Linked DNA regions of Homo sapiens: regions 1 and 3 are each linked to region 2. The links are contacts of gene promoters, found by promoter capture Hi-C in human tissues and cell types (Jung and others, 2019). All regions are on one chromosome and are shown on one strand. Each heading gives the region's core, a stretch centred on a gene start or on the middle of the fragment in contact. The rest is flanking DNA. Distances are from core to core; before and after follow the strand shown.

Region 1 (3,422 bases), core at 265-2,764, 1.3 Mb after region 2:
ATCCTAGTGACCACAGTTGAGGACTTTTCATCTCTGTGAGTGTGAATCTGCATTTTGTGCATGTGAGAATAGTTAGTTCCTCACATTAAAATGATCTTTTTTAAATACATAGAGATGACACAGAATTCTAAACTTAGAGCGGTTCCCTGGGGAAACTGTCAGAAGAAGTTGAAGTCCCACATCCTGGAAGGAATCCAGCCCCTAATCTCCATGTGCACCTCCTTCTGGGGTTGATTCTGATCAGTGGGTCCTGAGTGCCCCCTGCAGCTGATTTCCCCCCACCCCAGGGTTCCTGCAGGGAGGTTTCTGGCTGGGCTCATACTGATTTCCCCTCACCATGTCTCTCACACAGCCGAGTCCTCATCTCTCAGACTGTTCATTTGCAAGTACAGCATGTTCTTGCCATTGTCTCTAGAGATGGTGAATCTACCCTTCAGTGTCTGCATAGTATAGGCTACCACCACTAGCACTAATGTATGAGACCCATTCCAGCCCCTTTCTTGAAGCCCGGTGGGCCCAGTTCATGTCATTGCTTCTCAAGATGAATCCGCAGGCTGCACATGAGAGTCTCAGGACACCCCCAACCCCACCACAGCTGTACCAAGTCTCCCCCAGACTCTACCAGCTGCACCTCATACTGCACACCTGCAAACACAGAGACATCCTGGTCAGAAACTGCCACACATATCCACTGTTTCTCTAATATCCACTCACGAACAATATCTGTAGTTCTTCATGTATCACCTCTTAAAATAGTAAAAAGGAAAGCCCAGCTCAGCCCAAACAACATGGTGATTCCTCTGTGTTAAGTTCTGATCACCAAGTGAAAACACTTGGGAATCCTGGCACTTGAGCTCGTCTCCCAGAGCTGCACGGTCACGGCTGGGCTGGTTTTCATCATCAGCAGAGGGAGGGAACTATTTGCATATCTCCTACTATATAAAAGTCTCTTGGGCTGGATGTCTGAGGACAGGGCAGGGCACAGAGCATATTAAGTTTTCTGGTGGGTGGTGGGGCTTGAAGACAATGATAGTATTTGGAAAAAAATGTAATTTCTTATTAAAAGATTGTGCTATAGTAAACACTTAACATACATCATCTTAACACATGAAAATACATTGTTAGAGGCAGATGCCCATTGGTCCTCCATTTACAGATGAGAATGTAAACGCAGAAGCATGAGGGAGCTATGAGATGTGTCCAGGAGCTCACATGTGACAAGAATGGGCTCCAGGATCGAGGCCTGTGCTCCTCTCCACCGGATCCCACTGCTCCCTTAACCAACTTTAGCCCAGAGTTACACACACCTGGTGTGGTTTGAAGAAACCCTTCTTGTAATAAAAACATTAAAAAAATCTGCTGCATTTTAGAATTACCAAAAAATAAAGATAGAGCTAAGGGTTATTCATTGTACATTCAGAAATATCTGACTTTTTATGTGATTTATCCATCTCCCTTAAACCGTCCCTAAGAAATTTATACAGGTATTTATTTGTAATAGCTTGAATAATATAAAATTATAATTAACACACAAAATGTACAATTTAGAAATTATTGATGTAACCATAACCATTATTAAGATAGAAAACAGATCAATTACCCTCAACATTTTCTCTTGTTCTCTTGCAACTCCTCCGTCCTCCCTCTTTTCGCTCACCTTTTCTCCATTCAACTCCCAACCTTCATATCACTTTAGTTTCTATTCTGTAGAATGTATAAAAGTGTCATCATACGGGATGTAGTTTTTTTTTTTTGGCTTATTTTACTTATATGTACTTGTGAATTTAGTTCGTTTATGCGTCTATCAAACGTTCATTAATTGTAATGAACAACAGTATTCCAATGATTGATTTTTTTTTGTTTTTTTGAGACGAAGTCTCGCTCTGTCGCCCAGGCTGAGTGCAGTGGCGCAATCTCGGCGATTCTCCTGCCTCAGCCTCCTGAGTAGCTGGGATTACAGGCGCGCACAACCACGCCCGGCTAATTTTTGTATTTTTAGTAGAGACGGAGTTTCACTATGTTGGTCAGGCTGTTCTCAAACTCCTGACCTCATCATCCACCCGCCTCGGCCTCTCAAAGTGCTGGGATTACAGGCGTGAGCCACCGTGCCCGGCTGAATTTGTTAAATTCGGTGTTTAATCTGACATCCTTCTGGATTTGCTCACACTGGAACGTAAAAGAAAATAATTTCCAACACTTACGTGTAGCCAAAACAAAACCAAAAATTTCCCGTCTCTAAGCTACACCTACCACTGGATTTTTAACTGACAAAAGATGAGCCTGAGAGAAATCACAAAAGCAGCCAATTCAAGGAAAAGCCATTTATCGTTCTCAGCTGAACTTAAGACCACAGTTACCACGAAGGCAGCTTCTCCACCTCCGGAGCTCAAGCGATCCGCCCGCCTCAGCCTCCCAAAGTGCTGGGATTCCAGGCCTGAGCCCCGCGCCAGGCCAGCGAAGGCAACGTCTAAAAAAACTTCTCACCTCCTGTCACCATTTCAGTGACAAATTCCCGAGTTTTCAGAGGACATGCCGAATCCAGCACAAAACACTGACTCTGAGGAGCTCCCGACGCCGCTGGCGCCTCAGCTGGCAGCAGCTGCTCCAAGTTCGAACCCCCGGGCGGTGGCGGAAGGGCCTTCCCGCGGGCGTCGGGCAGCAGCTGCAGCCCTGGGATCGGCCGCGGCGGCTCCGCGTCCTTCCCGGAGGCGCCGGCGCGAGGTCCTCACACCCAGGCGGCTCAGTGGAGGCGCAGCAGCCCAAGGAGCGCCGCCCCCAGCGCCCGCGCCCATCCTGGAGAACTGCATCTGCGCAGGCCCAGAGCGTCCTCCTGGAGCAGGCGAGCCAGGATGGCGCCTCCTCGCTCCCAGCAGGCGCCCCCACGCGGCCCGTGCGGAGCCCAGCAACCAGAGCCGCGCGAGCCTGTGGGGAGCCTGTGGGGAGCCTGTGGAGGCCTGGGCTCCACCGCCTTCCCCACAGCCAGCAGCAGCTTCTGCCGCCCGCCTTCCCCTGGCCAGGTCTTCCTGCAGCTGGCGCCGGAGGCTGCGGAGGGAGGGCCCAAGGGTTCTTTTCAGAAGACTGGCTTTTTATGAATTTTAACACAATATGTACAAGCTGCATTCGTTTAATAATGCTACTTCCGTCATACGCTGGCAACTTAACACCTGAAAAGATTAGATGTTATAAATAGGACTTGTTCATCCTTTATACACAGGATATCCATAGATAAATAAAACAAACACACAGACAGAAGAGATGATCATTAATCTCTCCTCCCGGTGCGCACAGAGGCCTGGAAGTCTGCACTTTCTCCTCCTCTCTCCTCCCCTGAACCAGAGCACAAACGCAATGTGTGTTGATCAAGCAGGGATTTGGCCATCCTCCCCACCCCCCACCAACATCAAAATAAAATAAAACACTGC
Region 2 (3,490 bases), core at 320-2,819:
CAGAGTTTCGCTCTCGTTGCCCAGGCTGGAGTGCAATGGCACGATCTCGGCTCACCACAACCTCCACCTCCTGGGTTCAAGTGAGTCTCCTGCCTCAGCCTCCCAAGTAAATGGGATTACAGGCGTGTGCCACCACGCCCGGCTAATTTTGTATTTTTAGTAGAGACAGGGTTTCACCATATTGGTTACGCTGGTCTCGAACTCCTGACCTCAGGTGATCCACCTGCCTTGGCCTCCCAAAGTGCTGGGATTACAGGCGTAAGCCACCGCACCTGGCTGGATTGCCTGTAATTTCTAAGCTGTTTCACGGTTGCTGGCCATTCCTAGCCATTTCCGTCTTTTACTCCCACCTGCTTTGGCACCAGGCAAACCTATGACCTCTTTTCTGCCGTCACGTTTGAGACAAACCCTAGGGAGGGAAATGTGGAGTCACCAGCTCCAACCTCCCTGCTCCACCACACCCATCCAAAGCCCATTGTCAACTTTCTTATTTTTCCCAATTTGATAGTGTTGCCCAGGCTAGAGTGCAATGGCGCGATCTCGGCTCACTGCAAGCTCCGCCTCTCAGGTTCAAGCGATTCTCCTGCCTCGGCCTCCCAAGTAGCTGGGATTACAGACGTGTGCCAACACGCCCGGCTAATTTTTGTATTTTTAGTAGAGACAGGGTATCACCATGTTGGTCAGGCTGGTCTCAAACTCCTGACCTCAAGTGATCCGCCCACCTCGGCCTCCCAAAGTGCTGGGATTACAGGCATGAACCACCGTGCCCAGCCCCTATCCTCATCTTCTTCCAGGAGCCTCTGCTCTCCCACCTCGGCCTGGCCAATCTCCTGAAATATCATTTTGTGCTCAGCCCAACTGGCCAGTCTTCAGTGGTCAGTCCCAGTCCCTTGCAGTGGTACAGACCCACGTCATGCACTTGACAGAAGGTATTGGGCCCCCCGCCCCGCTGTGCCTGGTGCGCCGAACGCCACTCCAAAGGCCGGTGACCTGCCCAGCTCCAGGATCTTGTCACGTGACTGGGCCAACTGCCACTCACCGCAGCACAGCCCCCACTGCCCTGCTTTTCCCTCTGTGTAACCCCACAAGCAGCACAGGCCCCACAGAGAGAAGCCCAGCCCTTCAGTGCCCCCCGACCAATCACGGAAGCAAGTGGCCAAGGAGAGATTCCAGGGACAAAGTCCAGCCCCCTGACTCACCCCCATCTGGACCAGTAGCCAGGGAAGCCTTTTCCAGAAGAAAGTCTCCAGGAAGGTGGCGGTGACAAAGATACAATGGAAACTGTTGTCCCTCTCCCCCAAATCCTCCGGCCCCATCACATCTGTGGTCACTGGGGGTCCTGGGTTCTCTCGGGAGGGACCCCAGATTAAGAACCCTCAACAAAGCCTCCATCTTTACCAACAAATCACCTTTGCCTTCAGATCCCCCTCTGCCCGCCTCCAGCTCCCAGCCCCCAGCCCCATCCCAGAGCCTGGCCCCCCAGGCCCACTCCCCAGCACGCAGAGCCCAGCGACTTACCCAGGGCCCCGCCTGCGTGGCTAGCCTCGCACCCCTCCCTGCAGTCCTAGCTGAGGTTTCAGGAAGTAGCAGGGGTCTAATTATGTTCTGTCTAGAACTCCCCTAACCACAAACAGGGCTGAGCTAGGGGTTAGCCAACCGGGCTGGGGTATCTTACTGGTGATGACAGCATGGCCTCGTCACCTTCCTGAGGGAGGGAGTGGCAGGAAACCCCAGTCTTACCTCTTTTAGCAATAGCAGCACTCAGAGCCAGGCTCCACTCACTCAGGAGCTCCCAGGCAGGTGCTGGGGCCTGGCGCGGCACAGCGGCTGTCCGTGTGTCCCCAGACAGGCAAGGCAGGACAGGGGTCCTGGAAAGGCTGCAGGGAGGGGTCCTGGAAAGACAAAATCCAGCTCCTCTGCAGCTCAGGCCTGGTGTTGCCCACTCTCGGGCCAGGCAAGCACGGAGCAGGGTGACTTCCCAGAGGCTGTGTCCTCCCAGGAGTCCCTGTCCGGGGTGCCAGGAGTAGAGAGGCTGAGTGCGCCCACTGCAGCCCCGGGACCAGGATGGCACCTGCATGTCCTGGAAGGCTCGGCACAGCCACTGCACACAAGCACCCTCCCCTCCCCGCCTCCCTCTTCCTACATGGGGCAGGGCCGTGTGGGAAGAACAGCCTACTGCACACTCCACATTCCTCCCCCAGCCCTACCTCAACCCCTCCTGCATCCAGAACCAAGCCTGGCCTGGCCCAGGAGCCCTGCGGGTGGGCTTCTCTGTGAGGGGCCCTGTGGGAACTGGAGGGTGGGCAGGCAGGGTTGCCTGGGACAGTCCCCCTCACTGTGGGGCTTCCGGCCATGATGGGCCCAGTTTCCTTGGACAAAGCCAGCTGGCTGTGGACAGCACCTACAACTCCACTCACCTCCAGGCTGCTTCTGAGTTTCAGGGCACAGACCCACCCTGGTGCCCACTCCCGAGCCTGCCAAGCTCCATCCAAGCCAGGCTCTTTCAGCAGTGGGGACAGGGCCGGGCTGAGGGAAGGAGCTGGGGACCACAAATGTCTCCAAGCGACACTGCCCAGCACCGCAGCAGGGACGGTCACTGAGCGAAGAAGCCGCCATCCTGGGTGGGTACACCCACGGCCAGGAGAGGCCGGTGGAGGCCGAGCCCCCAGTCTACACTTTCCCCCAGACACGTGGATCACAGCTGCCCCCTGCTGCAGGGCCGCATGGCTGGAGGCTGCCTCCGAACAGCGATTTCAGAGGGTTTTGTGTGGGTGGCAGTGGAGTCCCTGGAAAGCTGGGCTTTCCCATTGCCCTGGCGGGGAGGCGCAGGTCTCAGGGCAGGGCCTACCTTGGCTTTCCAGAAACACTTGCCCAGGGGACAGTGATCCTCTAGGGGATCTGGTGCAAACACACGCCTCCACAGGCCACTGCTCATGGGGTCACTGGCCTCCCGGGTCTTTGGGCCAGGGCAGCCCCACCCTCGGAGCAGCAATAGACGAAGCCCACATCAGGCCAGTGGGGGTGATGGCCAGGGACAGCTGTGGGTTCCTGTCGCTGGCCCCAGCAGCCTCCTAGGACCTGCCCCGTCCTGCGCCCCACTGGGTGGTCTGTCACGTTCACCAGGCCTCCTCTGCGCCCCCGGTGAGGGGTCCAGGAGTGACATGCGGACCCGGCTCAGGCCATTGTCACCCTCCATGCCTTCTGGCCTTTGCCAGGCAGTCCGGGAATAGCCGATTCAAGTGAGGTCAGTTGAATCCTCTCTTTGGGTCCTTCACTGGGGTCTGGGAAAGGAAAGTTGGGTCCCTTGGGTGGCAGGAGCTGTGGGTATGAACTGGGGGGTTGGCAGCCGTGTACCGGCTCCCCTGCCCCTGCCAGGTGGAGAAGCCAGGCTGGGGTGGAGGGCAGGCAGGAGCCTGGGAGTCCAAACACTGACAGCCTGGGGGTGTGGACTGGCCCTGCCTATTCCCACCGGGCCTTCGGGACCAGTGGA
Region 3 (3,342 bases), core at 157-2,656, 1.1 Mb after region 2:
ACCAATACGGATGTTAATAGATGATTAAATAAAGAAATGATGGGAAGAAGAACACATCTCCTCATGGAAGTATTCCAAATATCTCAGGTGGATAGTCCTCCAATCAATAGGTGAAGGCTAAGCACTCATGAGTTGATTGTGGCCTGAGATTAGCAACATGGAATAAATAATCACTATTAGTGTATTTTATAATGAGACTTCAGATATAATGCCAAATACATGATCTATGAATGAATAATTTTTTATGTTTTTTGTCTAAATCTGTGCACACACACACACACAGACACACAGACACACATATATTTTTTGAAATACCCACTGATAAGAGAGAAAAAGACAACCACAGACTGGGAGAAAATACTTCCAAGTCATCTATTTGTTAAATCAATTCTTTGGATTTGTTAAGTGACTTTTATAATCAATATGCAAGTAAACTTACAACTAATGAAAAGAAAACAATGCAGATAAAAATGAACCACATATCAGGAAAGGCATCCCAGCAAAAATTATATAAAAATTGTTTAATACGAATTTTTTATTTGGGACATGTGCATTTAAATAAAAATTAGATGCCATTACTCACCTATCAGCATGGCTAAAACTCACAATTCTCATGATGATAAATGGTAACATGAATGTGGAAAAACAAGAAATGTCATGCATTGATGGTGGGCATTCAAAACGTTACATGCACAAAATGAGATTTTTTGATATTTTTTAAATAGAGATAAAAGTAGAGTTAAAATGTGAATTTGTGCTTGTGTTCTGAAATATTTACAACATTGATTCAGAAATTGATGTTTACAAAGATTGATTCAGAGGAAGTTCTGTGTCAGATTTGTTAATATGATTCATTCTACAATCCCTGAAATTTGCTTACAGAATAAATGTTGTATGAAAAATCTCTCAAATAACTAAAATCCTGTCCATTCAAGCCCTTGTCCAGGGGCCTGTCATACCCAGTGCAAGTAGCAGTAGGTGAAGGTGTATCCAGAAGCCTTGCAGGAGACCTTCACTGAGGCCCCAGGCTTCTTCACCTCAGCCCCAGATTGCACCAGCTGCACCTGGGAGTGGGCACCTGTGGGGAGGACACAGGAGTGGATGAAAGCCCCCTTGACTGGACTCAATCCCCTCCTCATTACTTGGACCTGGGAACTGCTTACCTGTGGCTGCTGCCACCAAGAAGAGGATCTTGCAGGTCCAGCCCATGAGGAGATGTGCTCTCAGGGGATTCTCTCAGGTGATTCTCTCAGGGCACAGAACATATTTACCTCAGTGGATATCAGTATATTTGCATATTCATAAGACAAAGCCTTTCTTAGCTCAAAGCCCAATCCATGATAAGAAAGGGAAGATAAATGACACATCAGCCTAACAAGAGTGAGATGCAGACGGTCGAAGCCCTAATCCTGCTTGAGGAAATGCATGCCCTGCTCCATTTACAAACATTTGTGGACAGACGTCCTTTCACTGAAGAATAAGCCCATATAGAACAGGCTCCTCACTGTGAGCCTACATTTGATTAGCATAGAGACCACCTGGATCATTTTTGGAACCATCACTCTCCATCACACTGAGCAGGTGCCTTGGTCTTTTCCTGGACCCATCAGCCACCAGCACAGCTCATTGGTGACTCTGAGAAAGTGATGCTTATGTCCCACATGAGTGTCCAGGAGGGACCTCTGAGATCTACTGGGTGCTCCTGAGACACTGTCTCCAGCACCTGCCTCATGTCCTGATCCCCCAGGGTCTTCAATTCTATTGAACACTCTTGATTTACAGATTTGCCCTGTGATGCATAATTAGAGCTGATTTTCTCATCTCACAGACAATGGGAATCAGAAGATAAAGCAGGAGTTTGGAGTCCATTATGAACTCTCTACTCCCAAAGTAATTGTCAAGGAATTTGTGTTTAGAACAATTTTGGGTTATTTTGAACTCCATTTATTAGTATTTTGTCAAGTATTTACATACTTTCAGTTCATATCCACAGACCCTCACCTTTCCATATTGATTTCTGACTCACTTGGTCTGTGCACCTGCCACACTCTCAGATCCACCACTGCCCTGTCACTCACACAATGTAAGCAACATTACTTAACACTGAAATCTGAATTTCTTATTCATAGGAATGTAGTTTCTTCAACTAATCTGTACCCATAGAATTAGTAAAAACATGCCTATCCTTCATATTCTCACTATTAAGATATTATAGTTCTAGAAACCCACTTTAAAAAATAGTTCCCAGTGCCTTAAGTTATATGAATGGTTTTGATGTGATAGAATATTTAAAGCACATCAGCGACTTTTTGAACAGTTATTTTAGATTGTTTTTTCCTGACAAACGAAAACCCAGGCACTGAGAGGAAACCTCCTCCCCAGCTGTGCACCTGCTCCAGGGCTGGAACCTGCGCTTGGTGGCTCCCAAGTGCCCCCTTCCACAGAAGCTCTTGCCTTGCAATGAGGTTTCTGTCGGGGCTCACAAATATTTTCCTTCAGAGTCTCTAGCCCAGCATGAAGTGGCTGTGTCCTGGTTTAGAATTCTCCATCAGTGACACCACATGCTGCTGACACCATGTCTTTTAACAATTGATTAGCCTTACTAAACCTACAGAGGGAGACCCACAGACAAGATTCTGTGACACAGAAGGGACCCCCTTTTCTGAAGCTTCACATTTCCTGAGTCAGTGGACACACAATGAACACAAAAACTTGAAGGATTTGGGGAGTGCCTAGTTTCTTCGCTGGGCTCTTGCAGTTGAATGTTGCACCTGAGAATATCTGCAGGTACAGATAAATTCAGAATAAAGACACCTTTGTATATGCTATTCCAATAACACATATTCTCCTTTCTTACTATTTTCTAGCCTATAAAAAGTGCCTCCTACACACACACTAGGCCTAGGTTTATGGCTTTTTTTCACTTAGCGATCTGAGGCAAACAGAATACAAGTGGAGACTTGGGAAGTGCATGCATTTTTTTTCTCAGCTAGGAACCCTGCAAATGCCCCATGATAAAAGAATCTGAGGTCAATGGATTTGCCAAGACCTTGTCTTCAAAAAATTTATGTCAGAGGCTTCAGATTTTCCTACTGTCCTTGTCTTATTCTCTGCCATTGTCTTTCAGTTTCCCTATGTTCTCCTCCTCACATAGAGTCTGTGCATTTCCACACTTTCATCTTTAACCCAGATTATACTGGTGAGAAAACAAAGTGTGCATCCTGGAAGTATTATATGTTCTTACAATTGATTCTTAATAATTCAGTCATCCTTTCTTTCTCTGGGTTGTGACCTATACGCAGAGTCTCCAGAAATGAAACTGTTGCTTTCCCTTTTCTGGCT

The links. The method cuts DNA at HindIII sites, captures the fragments that hold promoters and counts their contacts. A contact is called where the count stands out against the background at its distance.
Region 1: a fragment that was not itself captured here is called in contact with the fragment with the promoter of GPR132 in region 2 in 1 of the 25 tissues and cell types used here (lymphoblastoid cells).
Region 3: a fragment that was not itself captured here is called in contact with the fragment with the promoter of GPR132 in region 2 in 1 of the 25 tissues and cell types used here (lymphoblastoid cells).

The regions. Positions count from the first base shown.
Region 1 is chr14:106,396,325-106,399,746 of GRCh38, forward strand. It overlaps IGH and the pseudogene IGHV3-37. Among named protein-coding and RNA genes, the nearest start is that of LINC00221, 84 kb to the right of the region's middle. The HindIII fragment of the contact is 9,547 bases long and covers 1-3,422 here.
Region 2 is chr14:105,063,861-105,067,350 of GRCh38, forward strand. It overlaps GPR132 (G protein-coupled receptor 132), which reads right to left and starts at 1,570. Exons shown (of 4, transcript NM_013345.4): 1 at 1,519-1,570. RefSeq lists enhancers at 49-148, 259-398, 2,076-2,593, 2,269-2,438, 2,649-2,718. The HindIII fragment of the contact is 15,172 bases long and covers 1-3,490 here.
Region 3 is chr14:106,121,501-106,124,842 of GRCh38, forward strand. It overlaps IGH and the pseudogene IGHV1-12. Among named protein-coding and RNA genes, the nearest start is that of LINC00226, 160 kb to the right of the region's middle. The HindIII fragment of the contact is 4,139 bases long and covers 1-3,342 here.